Linked DNA regions of Homo sapiens: regions 1, 2, 3 and 5 are each linked to region 4. Evidence: promoter capture Hi-C in 16 types of primary human blood cells and fetal thymus (Javierre and others, 2016). All regions are on one chromosome and are shown on one strand. The core of a region is centred on a gene start or on the middle of the fragment in contact, and the rest is flanking DNA. Distances in the headings are between cores, read along the strand shown. Region 1 has its middle 15 kb from the start of ELN. Region 2 has its middle 69 kb from the start of ELN. Region 3 overlaps FKBP6 (FKBP prolyl isomerase family member 6 (inactive)). Region 4 holds the start of VPS37D (VPS37D subunit of ESCRT-I). Region 5 overlaps ELN (elastin).

Region 1 (2,850 bases), core at 311-2,810, 340 kb after region 4:
CAGGGGTTAACTGCACACTCCAGCCCACTCCTGTTTTCAATTTGGACACAGTGGACCAAGCTTAAGGATTTGCACGTTTCCTTGAACATTTCTCGGCTGGGGTCCGAGTCAGGCGGATTGCTTGAGGTCAGGAGTTCGAGACCAGCCTGGCTAACAGGGTGAAACCCCCTCTCTACAAAAAAATACAAAACTAGCCAGGCATAGTGGCACATACCTGTGGTCCCAGCTACCCGGGAGGCTGAGGTGGGAGGATTGCTTGGACCCAGGAGGTTGAGGCTGCAGTGAGCTGTGATTGTGCCACTGCAATCCAGGCTGGGTGACCAAGAAATAATATTACTTTATTTTCTTTAATTTTATTTATTTATTTATTTATTTATTTATTTATTTATTTACTTTGAGATGGAGTTTTGCTCTTGTTGCCCAGGCCGGAGTGCAATGGCACGATCTTGGCTCACTGCAACCTCCACCTCCCGGGTTCAAATGATTCTCCTGCCTCAGCCAAGTAGCTGGGATTACAGGAGTGCACCACCATGCCTGGCTAATTTTTTGTATTTTTAGTAGAGATGGGGTTTCGCCATGTTGGCCAGGCTGGTCTCAAACACCTGACCTCAGGTGATCCGTCCGCATAGGCCTCCCAAAGTGCTGGGATTACCGGTGTGAACCACTGTGCCCAGCCAGAATATTACCTTAATCAAGCCTCTAGATATAACAGCCAGCTTCTCAGAACACAAATAATAGAATTATATATTACTCCGGGGGGGGTGGATGGTGAAGCTCTGCCCCCAAGACCAGCAGCACCAGCTGCCCCTGCCTGGGTGGCCACTTTACAACAGCAAATCTGGAGGTCGTCCTGGCCCGTGGGCTCCCAATGGAGCCCGAACAGTGGCTTTGACAGATGAGGAAGCCGAGACCCACTGAACAGAGGGAGTGTTCTTAAAGCCAGGGACACCCGGCGCAGAGCCCATGTGGGGCTTGGGGAGCCCAGGGGACTTGTCCCTTGGTCTTCCGCTGAGCAGCTTTGAAGAGGGCGCATATTCTGGGAGTTAGAGACCCAGGTTGGAATGGGCCTGTCTCTGCGTCTCTGGGCCTCGAGTCCCCTACCTTGGGGGCACAGGTGTGTATCTGGGGCCGAGGGGATACTGAGGCTATGCCCTTGGAGACTGGCTCTCTCCAGCTGGCAATCTCATTCAGGGATTCTGGGACTGAAAATCCTCCAGGGCTGGGCGTAGTGGCTCACGCCTATAATCCCAGAACTTTGGGAGGCCGAGGCAGGCAGATCACTTGAGGTCAGGAGTTCAAGATCAGCCTGGCCAACATGGTGAGACCCCCGTCTCTAGCAAAAATACAGAAATTAGCCAGATGTGGTGGCAGCCGCCTGTAATCCCAGCTTCTTGGGAGGCTGAGGCAGGAGAATCACTTGAACCTAGGAGGAGGAGGTTGCAGTGAATCAAGATCATGCCACTGCACTCCAGCCTGGGCGACAGAGTGAGACTCTGTCCCAAAAAAAAGAAAAAAGAAAAAGAAAATGACCTCTCAGTGCCTAGGATGGCAGCCCCCAGGTTCAGGCCCTCAGCTGGAACCCCTGGGGCTGTGAATGAGGTGTGAGGAAGGCGGGGCCTCCAGGCAGCTGGAGTGCAGGAGGGAAGCTGGGCTGGACCTGGGATCTCTGGACCCGCGAGGCCTGCCCGACCTGCCTGCCCCCTGCCCAGAGCGTCTACCTTGGCCTGGCTCTCACCCAGTAGGTGGAGGCCCAGGGGCCTGGAATCAGTCACATCCGGCCCAGCCGTCTAAACAGGCCTGAGGCCCCAGAGCCCGCCGGGCCCAAGGGGAGCCCAAAATAACATCTGAGTCAGCATCCCTGCAGACACCCCCATCAGCCTGGGCCCATAGGGAGGGGCCTAGAGGCGGCCCAGACGGGGACCAGGCCAGGTCAGGCAGCCACCTGCTCTGGCGGGGCCCAGCCAGCGGCCAGCATGGCCCAGGGACATTGGAATTAGCCAAGTGGGGAGAGGGAGATTGGAGAAGAGAAGGGGGCGGCCCTGCCTGAGGTGGGCTCCAGTGCGAGAGAGACAGGGCTGTCTGCAGATGGTAGCAGTTCAGTGCAGCCAGTGTCACCCTGGGGGGAGAATAGGGGGCTGGGAGCAGGTGCAAGCACATGGCCCAGTCTGGGGTCCCTAGAGGCAAGCAAGTCCTGAGTGTGGGTTGGATTTGGACAGGACAGGGATGCGGGAACCACATTCTACCCAGGGGGAGTCAGGGAACAGAAGCCCCTCCACAGGGGGAGGTGGAAGAGAGAGAGCCCCAGGAGTTTAGGGACCCCTACCAGAGCCAAGCTGGAGACCCTCCCCCCAGGGGCTGGGCAGACACATATAGCCCTCTGACCCCAATCACCTCTGCCACTACAGCCCAGCAGCCATGGCCAGGCCTGTCCGCCCCATACTAGCCCTGCCAGACACAAAGGTGGCCCCAGCAGAAGGGACTGTCTGCACTGAGGCATCCACGTCATCCTACCCATCCCTCCAGGTGAGCACAGCCCCCAGGAGACCCAGAGGAGCTAAGATTCCAACACCAGGGCAGGGCGGGCCTGAGATCAGGGACAGGTCCTAGGCCAGAGTCCTTCAGCATCAGTCCATGTGATCTCGACTCCTCCCCAGAGGCGGCCGCAGGAGCGAGCTGGTCCAGGCCACACTGTGTCCTCAGGTCCCCGGGTGGGTGGCTCTGGTCAGTCCCTTTGCTTTACAACTGTGAGGTCGCCCTGCCTCCCATGGCCAAGCTGGGGCAGAGGGCGGATACCTGAATCCCTGCTGGCCTCCCAGCTTAATCCCTCAGCTTTCCTGAGAATGGCTCTGC
Region 2 (2,700 bases), core at 181-2,680, 290 kb after region 4:
TGCAATGGCACAATCTTGGCTCACTGCAACCTCCACCTCCTGGGTTCAAGCGATTCTCCTGCCTCAGCCTCCCTGGTAGCTGGGATTAGAGGCAGGCACCACCATGTCTGGCTAATTTTTGTATTTTTAGTAGAGACGGTGTTTCACCATATTGGCCAGGCTGGTCTCGAACTCCTGACCTCAGGTGATCCACCTGCCTTGGTCTCCCAAAGTGCTGAGATTACAGGCGTGAGCCACTGCACCCCATCAAGACTTCTTTAATTTCTTTCAACTGTGTTTTGTGGTTGTCAGAGTATGTCTTGTGCTTGTTTTATTAAATTTATTCCTAAGTATTTTATTTTTATGTTATTATAAATGGAATTGTTTTCTTAATCTAATTTTTTGGATTGTTCATTTCCAAAAAATATAACAGATTTTTATATATTTATCTTGTATTCTACAACCTTGCTGAACTCATTTATTAGTTCTAATAGTTGTGTGTGTGTATATATGTCTGTGTGTTTGTGTAATCCTGAGGATTTTCTCTATACAAGGCCACATTCTCTGCAAATAGAGGCAGTTATACTTAATCCTTTCTAATCTGGATGCCTTTATTTCTTTCTCCTGCCCTGGCTAGAACATCTGATGCAATGTGGAATATAAGTGTTGACAGGGGACATTCTTGTCTTGTTTTTGATCTTAGGAAGAAAGCTTTCTACCTTTCATCACTGTGTATGATGATAGGTGGGTTTTTATGGATGTCTTTTTTCAGGTTGAGAAATTATCCTTCTATTCCTAGTTTGGAGATTGTTTTTATCACAAAAGGGTGTTGGATTTTGACAATGCTTTTTCTACATCTATTGAGACGATGATATGGTTTTGCCTTTTATTCCATTAATAGGGTGTATTAACTGCATTGATTTTTGTACACTGAGGCAAACTTACATTCCTGGCATAAATCTCACTTGATCATTGGTATATAATCCTTTTTGTATGTTAGTGAATTCATTTTCTAGTATTTTGCTGAGAATTTTTTTGTCTTTATTTGTAAGAATTATTGGTCTATAGTTTTCTTTTCTTGTTTTGTCTTTGTGTGGTTTTGGTGTCAGGACCTCAGAATGAGTTGGAAAATTTCCCCCCTATTTTTGGAAAGGTTTTTGGAGGATTGATATTAATTCTTCTTTAAATGTTTGGCAGAAATCATCAGTGAAGCCATCTGGTCCTGGGTTTTTCTTTGCAAGGAGTTCTTTTGTGTTTGTTTTGCTTTGTTTTGTTTTGTTTTAATTATTAATTCAATCTCTTGTTATAGATATTTTGAGATTTTTAATTTCTTTTTGTGTCTGTTCTAATAGCTTGAGGCTTTGTAAGAATTTGTCCCTGGGATACAATTGTTCATAGTATTCCCTTATAATTCTCTATCCTTCTGTAAGGTTAATAGTAATGTCCTGGCTGGGCGCAGTGGCTGACACCTGTAATCCCAGCACTTTGAGAGGCCGAGGCGGGTGGATCACCTGAGATCAGGGGTTCGAGACCAGCCTGGCCAACATGGTGAAACCCCATCTCTACTAAAAATACAAAATTAGCCGGCTGTGTTGACGTGTGCCTGTAATCCCAGCTACTTGGGAGGCTGAGGCAGGAGGATCACTTGAACCCAGGAGGTAGAGGTTGCAGTGAGCCGAGATTGTGCCACTGCACTCCAGCCTGGGCAACAGAGCAAGACTCCGTCTCAAAAAAAAAAAAATAGTAATGTCATTTCTTCCATTCTCAATTTTAGTAATTTGAATTTTTTTCTCTTTTTTTCTTGGCAAGTCTAAAGATTTGTGAATTTTGTTGATCTTTTTGAAGAACCAACTTTTTGGTTTCATTAGCTTTCTCTATTGCTTTTCTGTCTCTATTTCATTTATTTCCCCTTAATCTATATTATTTCTTTCTTTGTATTTGCTTTGAGTTTAACTTTGTTCCTCTTTTTCTTGTTTCTTAGGGTAGAAGTTTAGGTTATTGATTTGAGATCTTGCTTCATTTTTAATATAGGAATTTACAGCGCTATGTTTTCCTTCTAAACTTCTATTTATTCTTGAGCCAGTTTTGGTCATTTGTGTCTTCAAAGAATTTGTCCATGCTACTTGAGCTATCAAATGTACTGGCATGCTATTGCTCATAACATTCCCTTATTATCTGTTTCATGTACACAGAAGCTTTAGTAATGTCTCTTCTTTCATGACTAATATTGATAATGCAGTATTCTCCATTTTTGGTTTAAAGAATATAGCTTGAGTCTTATCAGTGGTGGTGAGAGACTGTGGTGGCCCTATGAGTCCCACCTCCTGCCATCACACCTTTGTGTGGCCTCCCCTTGAGCGTGGATGTGACTTGTGACTTGCTTCTAAATCATAGAATATAACACAGGTGAAGGCATGTACATGATGACGTGTATGTGATTACATTATGTAAGATAATAATCCATCTTGCTAGGACACTCTTGTCCTCCCCACCATACACCTAATGGCTTTGAGGAAGTAAGCTGCCATGTGGCAAGGAGATGGGAGTGGCCTCTGGCTGACAGCCAGGTGGAAACTGAAGCTCTTGGTCCAGCAGCCTGCAAGGAACTGAATTCTGTCAACCACCACATGAGTTAGAAGTCGATTCTCCACCAGTTGGCCTCAGATGAGACACCTTGATTGCAACTTAGTGAGCTAGAAGCAGAGGACCTAGCTAAGCTGT
Region 3 (2,880 bases), core at 148-2,647, 320 kb before region 4:
CCTCTACAGCTGGGTTTCTGAAGTGCTCGGCCGTGCGCTGCACCAGCAGTTCCCAGCAAGCAGGTGAGACAGACTGCCAGACTATACATCTCCATCATCGCCCACCTTTCTGTTTCCCCTACCGCAAATAAACAACCCCTAGAGAGGTGGGAGGGTGTCACTTTTTTTTTTTTTTTTTGAGATGGAGTCCCTCTCTGTCACCTAGGCTATAGGGCAATGGCATGATCTCGGCTCACTGCAACCTCCGCGTCCCGAGTTCAGACGATTCTCCTGTCTCAGCCTCCAAGGTAGCTGGGATTACAGGCGTGTACCACCACATCTGGCTAATTGTTTTTGTATTTTAGTTGAGACAGGGTTTCACCGTGTTGACCAGGCTGGTCTCAAACTCCTGACCTCAGGTGATCCCCCCACCTCGTCCTTCCAAAGTGCTGGGATTACAGGCACAAGCCACCACAACTGGCCCCGGTGTCACTTAAAAAGAGTCTTCTGGTGCGCTCTTCCCTGCGTGCTCCACCAAGAACCACTGCTCCTAACCAAGTGCAGAAAGGCCCCTCGTAGGTCCTCATGTGACCAGAAACAGGCGTTTCGGGTCTGACTCATACCCATGGATTGACCTCCTTGTTACCCACGTGACTAAGCACACCAGTCTTTTAGTGATGTAATTTTTTCTCATTATAGAAGTTTTGTGTCCATTGTAGAAAACCTTGAAAATGTCTACCTATAAATAGGAGTCCCCCATAACTCCATCACTTGGTAATAGGTCCATGGTTTTTAAGGTATATCTTCTTCTGTAATGGTGAAATTCTCTACTTGTCTTAATATTAAACATTCGGTCCAGATTGCTAGTTAAAGCTTGCTTGGCATTAGTGTCTGAGATGTGAGTATCTCTTAGGTTACATTTCAAGCCTTTTAGGACTTGCCAGCAATTTCCTTTCTGGTATTTAAAAGTATCCTGTCAGATCTGGTCATTCTTTAGTGAGAAAATCAGGAGAGGTTAGAGGCTGCTGAGGGTGAGGGGTCGTTTGGCGAGACTCAGCCCGGAGCCTGGTGGCCAGAGGCACCTGCCCTTCAAGGCAGCTGTCCTTTCCAGTTAGGGGGTTTTGTCCAGGGGCTTGGCTCCTTGGCCAGCTGTGGGAGCCTTCCCTGCCTCCCCACCTCTCCAGCTTACTTCCATCCCTCCCAACTCAGTTTGAGTCCTGATAAATTTTCAGTGTTTCTGGATGTGAGTGGAGAATTCCAGCCACCAGATGTCACCTCCTCCAAACACAGACCTCCTCTAACAAGTGTGTATTTCCCTCTCCAGCTGTTACAGGGACTATGTGGATAAAGAGAAAGAAATGTGGCACCGCATGTTCGCGCCCTGTGGCGATGGTTCTACAGCAGGAGAAAGTTGAAGGTAATCAAAGGGCCAGGGTGGCACACAGGCTTCCGGATGGAGAAGCGTGCTGCTCTCCTCCACCCCCAAGTGAATGGTGGCTGTCTGCAGCTGAGGGTGGACGAGGGGTAGACAAGTTCCTTGCTGTAAAGAACAACACAACGGTAGTGCAGGATGCACGTGCTGCACGCCTACCTTTCCCGTGAGAAGAAAGTTCGCCCAGACCTGTGGGTTAAATGTATAGGTTCAGGGGGCCTTGAGCTATTTATTTATTTATTTGTTTGTTTGTTTGTTTGAGGCAGAGTCTCACTCTGTTGCCCAGGCTGGAGTGCAGTGGTGCGATCTCAGCTCACTGCAAGCTCCGCCTCCCAGGTTCAAGCGATTCTTCTGCCTCAGCCTCCTGAGTAGCCGAGATTACAGCTGTGAGCCGTGGCGCTCAGCCTAAATTTATTTTTTAAAAAACCTTTTTTTTTCATGTTTTATGTGAAACTCTCCTTGCAGTTGCTTGGAACATGAGACTGAGTAGAGTCATGAATGTGATGGTTGATAGAGCTGGGCTTTGACGTGTCAAGCTTCTGTTCATCTTCTTTCTCCTGAGAACTCGAAAGCCTCCAACTTGACTGTGTCTCTAACACATTACTAAAGCAGACAAGATCGCAGGGTGGGGATGGGCTGTGGCTCTTAAATTCTACTTTCTATTAGACTTAGAGATTTGAAGATGCTGAAAGCAACAGGGAGCGGAATATAGCATTCCTCCCAAGATCACACCTAGTAATTTTGCAGGCACAGGGCGGGAGTTCCCAAGCACATGAGATAACCCTCCAGTCTGAACCCTCCAGTCTGGTCTACTATTTAATAAAATTAATGGAAACAAAATCACCTGCCTGAAACACCTGCTTAGCTGCACAGATAACTCTGCTCTCTCGGAGAAGTCAAACAAGGAACAACAAGAAAACAGCTGCTGAACGGGCTCATGGTGATAAATCTCTCCTTTGTTGCTTCCTCCATCTCCCTACAAAAGGGGCTTGAGAGGAGGAGGCAGTGAAAAGGCCTATTCATCCCCGACATTTTCATAGCGGTCCATAAACTGCTGCTATCTGCACTTTCAGATGCGCCCACCAGCATCACAGGTAAATGTTGCCTTCGTCACTGATGCTGGCCATGTGAACCCTGGCCTTCAGGTCTTTCAGTGGCCTTTGGAGTACATATTTGCAGGTCTTCAGAACTGAGATGTGAGCCAGAGGACTTCCCTTGTTTGGTCACTTCTAGTATCCAGTAAAAATGAAGGGCAGTGACTGTTTGCCAAACATTTTGGACTGTGACCCCACAAGTCCTGTCATGAATGAAGACCCAGGTCTGCCAGGGTCCATCCCAGACAAGGGCTTGGGCAGCCCAGCTGGGCAGCAGTTTTCCTCGCCATCATGTTTGCTTCCCAGCCTTTTCAGTCTGTAGGACTGGAGGCTGCTGATCTTCAGATGCTTTCCCCCAGATTTCCAACTCCAGCA
Region 4 (2,775 bases), core at 270-2,769:
GTTCAGCGCAGAGCGGCATCGTATGCTCTGTGGACACTGTACAAATGAGAAGAAACGGGACTGTATCATTTACCTGTAATGTGACTTTGGGGAGGCGACATCATCTCTTTTTTTTCTTTTTTTTCTTTGTTTGAGACGGAGCACGGAGTCTCTGTCGCCCAGGCTGGAGTGGAGTGGTGCTATCTCGGCTCACTACAACCTCCGCCTCCCAGGTTCAAGCGATTCTCCTGCCTCAGCCACCTGAGTAGCTGGAATTACAGGCGCCCACCACCACGCCCGGCTAATTTTTGTTGGTCAGGTTGGTCTCAAACTTCTGACCTCAAATGATTCACCCACCTTGGACTCCCAAAGTGCTGGGATTACAGGCATGGGCTACCGTGCCCGGCCTCTGTGATGCTTCTGCATGTCTAAAATAACAAGTGGGTATTGACCTACTATGTGTATTCATTATAACATTGCTAGCCATATCACTATCCCTCAGCATTTTAATTTTACTTTTATAGAGATGGGGTCTTGCTGTGTTGCCCAGGCTGGTCTCAAAACTGAGCTCAAGCAATCTCCCACCTCTGCCTCCTGAGTAGCTAGGACTACAGACGCATGCCACCATGTCCGGATACTTTTTAAAAGCATTTAAATACTTTTAAAAATTGTTCTTTTCACTCTTTTTTTTTTTTTTTTTGAGACGGAGTCTCGCTCTGTCACCCAGCCTGGAGTGCAGTGGCGCGATCTCCGCTCACTGCAAGCTCCGCCTCCCGGGTTCACGCCATTCTCCTGCCTCAGCCTCGCGAGTAGCTGGGACTACAGGCGCCCGCCACCACGCCCGGCTAATTTTTTTTGTATTTTTAGTAGAGACGGGGTTTCACCATGTTAGCCAGGATGGTCTCGATCTCCTGACCTCGTGATCCGCCCGCCTCGGCCTCCCAAAGTGCTGGGATTACAGGCGTGAGCCACCGCGCCCGGCCTCTTTTCACCCTTTTGACAATTTTTAAATTTTTTTAAATAGAGACGGGGGTCTTGTTATGTTGCCCAGGCTGGTCTCAAACTCCTGGCCTCAAGCGATCCTCCCTTCTCGGTCTCCCAAATCGCTGGAATTACAGGAGAGAGCCACCGCGCCCGGCCAGCAAGTCAGCGCTCACCATCTCCAACCCCATTTTACAGAAGAGAAAACTGAGGCTTGGGGAGGGCTGCAAGGCAGGAGCCCTCGGCGCCCGGCCAAAGTCAGAAATTTGTTGTTGCCATCCGAGGGGAAAACGTGCACGGGCTCTGCAAATTGTAACCGCCCGGGGTGGGAGAGTCCGTGCCTGGGGGCGTGGTGAGCCAGGGCCGGTGCTGGGGCGCAGAGCAGGGCGGCTCAGATTCCGGGAGGGGCGGGGAGATCGGGTTGCTGGGCGATCCTGGGGTGCTGGAGGCGGCGCGGCGCGGCCGGGGCGGGGAGGGGTGCGGCCCGCCTCCTCCCTGCCCCACCCCCAGCCCCGGCGCCGCGGCTCCTTTAAGAGCGGGAGGGGCGCCCCCTGGCGGCGGAGCGGTGCGTGCGGCCGGAGCCGGAGCGGATCCTGGAGCCGGAGCGGAGCGGAGCGGAGCGGAGCCGGGGCGGAGCGGGCCGAGCGGGCCGAGCCAGCAGCCGAGCTGGGGGCGCGGGCGGGCGGCATGTACCGGGCCCGGGCGGCGCGGGCGGGGCCGGAGCCCGGCAGCCCGGGGCGCTTTGGGATCCTCAGCACCGGGCAGCTCCGGGACCTGCTTCAGGATGAGCCCAAGCTGGACCGGATCGTGCGGCTCAGCAGGAAGGTAGCGCGGGGGGCTCGAGCGGGGGGCGCGGGGGACGGGCAGCGGCCTGCGGGACCTGCCGCTCGAGGGAAGGGCCGCGCGGGCCGGGCCGCGGGGCCGCCCGTGGGCGCGGAGCCTGGCACGTACGAGTGGGCCCCGCGGAGCCACCCCCGGGGGAGGGGGCGCTTGGAGCTGGCCTGGGGCGGGTGGGGCGCCGGGGACCCGAGGGGGGCGCCTGTGCACCCCCAGGATGGCCGCGAGGCGTGTCCTACAGCGGATGCTCCGGGGAGGTGTGTTCCGGGGGGCTGTGTTGTGGGGGGCCCTGGCTCGCACACCCACGTTCTGTAAGGGCCAGAAAGAGGAGGCGCCTTCCACTGGGAGAACTAGGGGCCTGTCTGACACCTGGAGGGGCCGTTGGGGGTTCACGCATTCTGGGGGCGCAAGAGGGGGCTTTGTGCCTGGCGTTGGGGAGGGGTGCTGGAAGCTGCCGTGTGTATTGCATAGGCCACCGTAAGAGAAAGTTGTATATTTCACGGGAGATAGGCCCGGGCTGGTTGTCTGTGGGGGGCAGAAAGGGCAAGTGTGTGTTGAAAGCAGGCAGGCGAGGAGGGGCTTGTGCATCCCACAAGGGACAGATGGAGGGGAGTGCGTTCTCCAGGGGCAGGGAGGGGAGGTTGGGCCCTGCTAGAGACAAGGAAAAAGCCTTCTCCAGGGCCGGGGCTGCTGTAAGCCCGGAGCAGGGAGGAAAAGGGGGTGTGTATTCCTTGGGGTGTGAGGATTCCACTGGAGGCAGAGGAAGGGGTGGGAAGGGAAGAGAGGGTGACCCGAGGGGGTGCTGTGAGGGGACGGGGTGCAGACACCCCTCTGGAGAGGATGAGCAGGGGGTGGGAGTGTTTTCGGTGCAAACACCTGAGGAGGAAACAGACAAAGGCCTGGAGTGAGAGGGAAGCTGTCCATGCATGGAAAATGGGGCAGAGGAGGGAGGGGCACTCCTCCGGGACCTGAGCAGAC
Region 5 (2,724 bases), core at 189-2,688, 370 kb after region 4:
CCTGCCTCAGCCTCCTGAGTAGCTGGGATTACAGGCACATGCCACCACGCCTGGCTAATTTTTGTATTTTTAGTAGAGACAGGGTTTCACCATGTTTGCCAGGCTGGTCTCAAACTCCTGACCTCAGATGATCCGCCTGCCTCAGCTTCCCAAAGTGCTAGGATTACAGGCGTGAGCCACCACCCCCAGCCCATCATCCCCTTTTGAGGCTGAGACTCTGGGACTCAGAGAGTATAAACCACGAGTTAGAAGTAGAGCTAGGTTCCCAGGGGCTCCAAGTCTGAGCGGGAGGACCTGGGGTGTGTGATTCCACACTGCCCACACTTTGCCCGGGTTGGGGGTTGGATAAGTAGTAGATGGATAAGCTGGGCCACCCCATTCACTATCTTCTCTTCCCTCTGCAGCGCTGGGGCCTGGAGGCAAACCTCTTAAGCCAGGTAAGACCCAAGGCCTCGGAGCATTGAGAGACAGCGAGGGAGCTGGGGAGGGAGGAGCCTACCCAGCTGGGAATGGGACAAGGAAACTAGGAACAGGACAAGGAAGCCAACGGGCAGGAGGAAGGAGGGAGGTGTGGACACCGATTAGCCTCCCAAGGATGAGTAGGCCGGGGCCAGGTCCCAGGGCTTCCAGGAACAAGAGGCTGGAAGCAGCTCCATGTCCTCCCTGTGTGAGGGCGTCTAGCATCTACCCTACATGTGCATGTGTGTTCACCCAGCTGTCCAGAGACTCCTCTCTGCAAAGGAGAGGCTGTTAGAGGCAACATCAGGGATTGCTCCGGTTCCAGTGGCCTCCAAGCCTTACATGACCCTCGGGAGCTCAGACACAGATCCTCAGCCCCAGACTTCCCCTGAGTGGTCCCCTAGCCCTTGACCCCAGACCAATACCCCAGATCACCCTGACCTTGATGCCATTCTGAGCCCTTCTCCTGACTCCAGATGGAGCACTGGTCTCAAGCCAAAGCTTAACCCCAGCCCAAGCCCTGAGCCTAATCCCAGGCTGAACCCTGACCCTGCTGACCCTGGTCCCACAGGACCCCCAATCCTGGCCTTAGGCCAAGCCCTGACCCCAAGCCCAAGCTGAGCACCGACCATGGCCCCGGATAAGCTCCCCTCCTAATCTCAGGCCCTTTCCAGCTGTGTCCAGACCACGGAGTTTTCCAGTAAGAAGGTGTGGCCGGATCTATCCTGGCCTCGCCCAAGGGGCTGGGATCTGCCACGAGGGTCCACTCTCAGCTCTGGGGAATGCACCCCCAGGAAGGAAGGTGGGGCAGGTCCCTCCGGGAAATACTGGCGGATAAGGAGCAGGTGGAGGAAACAGCGTCTCTGTCCAGATTGATGGTCCCTCGGCATGAGACGCTCCACATGTGACTTTGGCCGCCCCACACCCTGAGCTGTGTTGCCCTGGCTCAGAAGCCCAAGTCTCCAGGACACAGTTTAGATGTCCAAGAGCTCTTATGAAATCCTGATAGTTGATAATCCAAGTGCAAATGAATCTTCAAGACCCAGATTCCCCTGCGCTAAAAGTCCATCTGGGTTGTGAAACACCAGGGCTGGAGCCAGGAGAGGCGGGAGAACGGGGTGCCTGGGGTCTACAGGGCTCTGCAAGGCCAGGAGACCCTGGGAGCTTGCCACTTATCCCCGCCAGCACCTATACCCTGTCTTCCTGGAGCAGGTGAGGGTTCTTAGCAGGGTCTTTGACGGTGAAGAGAGGACAGGGGAGATGATAGTGGTGCAGAGGTGTGGAGGTAGGTCTGTGCTTGGCCTAGAAGACCCAAATTGAGGAGGTTGTGCCTGCAAAGCTGGAGGGTACATTCATTGATCCCACTAGGAGCAAGAGACACATAGCAGGTTGTGGTTAAACACCAGAGGAAAGACAGACAACTCCCTACGAAGTTCCAGGATGTGTAGTTGCAAAAGTGAAGCTTTTGTTAATGAAAGATTTAGGTTAGACTTCTGAAAGAACTTCCAGCTCAGGGTGAAGGAGTCAATCCAAAGGAAAGTCAGAGCATCTCCTTCTGATAAAAAGGGCAGTGTTTCCAGGCAAGGGGCTGGATTCCATGACCTCCCCGAAGACTCAGGGCTACAGAAGGGTCGGCAGAGCCCCCATGGCACCCCCAGGGAGGCCCCCACATCCGGGCTGCCAGGACGTCTGGGCCTGCCCAGGCAGGATGGAATGGAGCACAGGCAGCGCGTGTCATGCTTGGGAACAATTAATCCCTTGGTGACAGAGGGTGGGTGGCCTGGCAGCTGCTTTTCCACGTGGGCGCCACCACAGGTCCAAGCTGGCCCTGCCCTGCCTCAGCTCTCAGCGGGGGACCAGGCAGCTGGAAGCCTGCACACCCAACACCCTGAGCACTAGCCAGAGGCCAGCCGCCCACTGAGAGGGGCACGGGCATGGACAAGAAGGAACTGGGAGCACCCACTGTGTGCCCTGGGTAGGTTGCACAACTAGGTGCTTTCTGCACACATGCTCACTGGTCCCAGCAAGGCAGGTGATATAATGGCCATTTTGTAGATGGCAAAAACTAAGCCTCATCGGAGAGGCAAATTGACCTGCTTGTGCTCATGGAGGCTGGGTAGCAGCAGCAGGGTCTGAATCTAGAACTCTCTGACTCTAGAAAGAAGGAGGATGGAGCTGGCCAGGTCCCTGGACTCCCAGCTGTGGTCAGCCCCTCCCCGCTTTCTCCTCCTTTCCAGATGCTAGAATCCTTGGGGCATTTGGGGC

Evidence for each region. The method cuts DNA at HindIII sites, captures the fragments that hold promoters and counts their contacts. A CHiCAGO score of 5 or more calls a contact.
Region 1: a fragment that was not itself captured here is called in contact with the fragment with the promoter of VPS37D in region 4 in 1 of 17 cell types (M1 macrophages); the score reaches 5.7 in M1 macrophages.
Region 2: a contact is called between a fragment that was not itself captured here and the fragment with the promoter of VPS37D in region 4, in 2 of 17 cell types (M1 macrophages and erythroblasts). The highest score is 6.5, in M1 macrophages.
Region 3: a contact is called between a fragment that was not itself captured here and the fragment with the promoter of VPS37D in region 4, in 1 of 17 cell types (erythroblasts). The highest score is 6.1, in erythroblasts.
Region 5: a fragment that was not itself captured here is called in contact with the fragment with the promoter of VPS37D in region 4 in 2 of 17 cell types (endothelial precursors and erythroblasts); the score reaches 6.3 in endothelial precursors.

The regions. Positions count from the first base shown.
Region 1 is chr7:74,011,261-74,014,110 of GRCh38, forward strand. No RefSeq gene overlaps it. Among named protein-coding and RNA genes, the nearest start is that of ELN, 15 kb to the right of the region's middle. RefSeq lists an enhancer at 1,614-1,933. The HindIII fragment of the contact is 3,005 bases long and covers 59-2,850 here.
Region 2 is chr7:73,958,237-73,960,936 of GRCh38, forward strand. No RefSeq gene overlaps it. Among named protein-coding and RNA genes, the nearest start is that of ELN, 69 kb to the right of the region's middle. The HindIII fragment of the contact is 1,484 bases long and covers 689-2,172 here.
Region 3 is chr7:73,341,504-73,344,383 of GRCh38, forward strand. It overlaps FKBP6 (FKBP prolyl isomerase family member 6 (inactive)), which reads left to right. Exons shown (of 9, transcript NM_003602.5): 8 at 1,304-1,396. The coding sequence ends at 1,394. Among named protein-coding and RNA genes, the nearest start is that of FKBP6, 15 kb to the left of the region's middle. RefSeq lists an enhancer at 612-1,556. The HindIII fragment of the contact is 1,095 bases long and covers 851-1,945 here.
Region 4 is chr7:73,666,312-73,669,086 of GRCh38, forward strand. VPS37D (VPS37D subunit of ESCRT-I) reads left to right here and starts at 1,520. Exons shown (of 4, transcript NM_001077621.2): 1 at 1,520-1,785. The coding sequence starts at 1,648. RefSeq lists silencers at 1,131-1,180, 1,191-1,290, 1,401-1,700 and an enhancer at 1,682-2,677. The HindIII fragment of the contact is 11,431 bases long and covers 1-2,775 here.
Region 5 is chr7:74,037,303-74,040,026 of GRCh38, forward strand. ELN (elastin) reads left to right here. Exons shown (of 33, transcript NM_000501.4): 4 at 405-437. Among named protein-coding and RNA genes, the nearest start is that of ELN, 10 kb to the left of the region's middle. The HindIII fragment of the contact is 961 bases long and covers 959-1,919 here.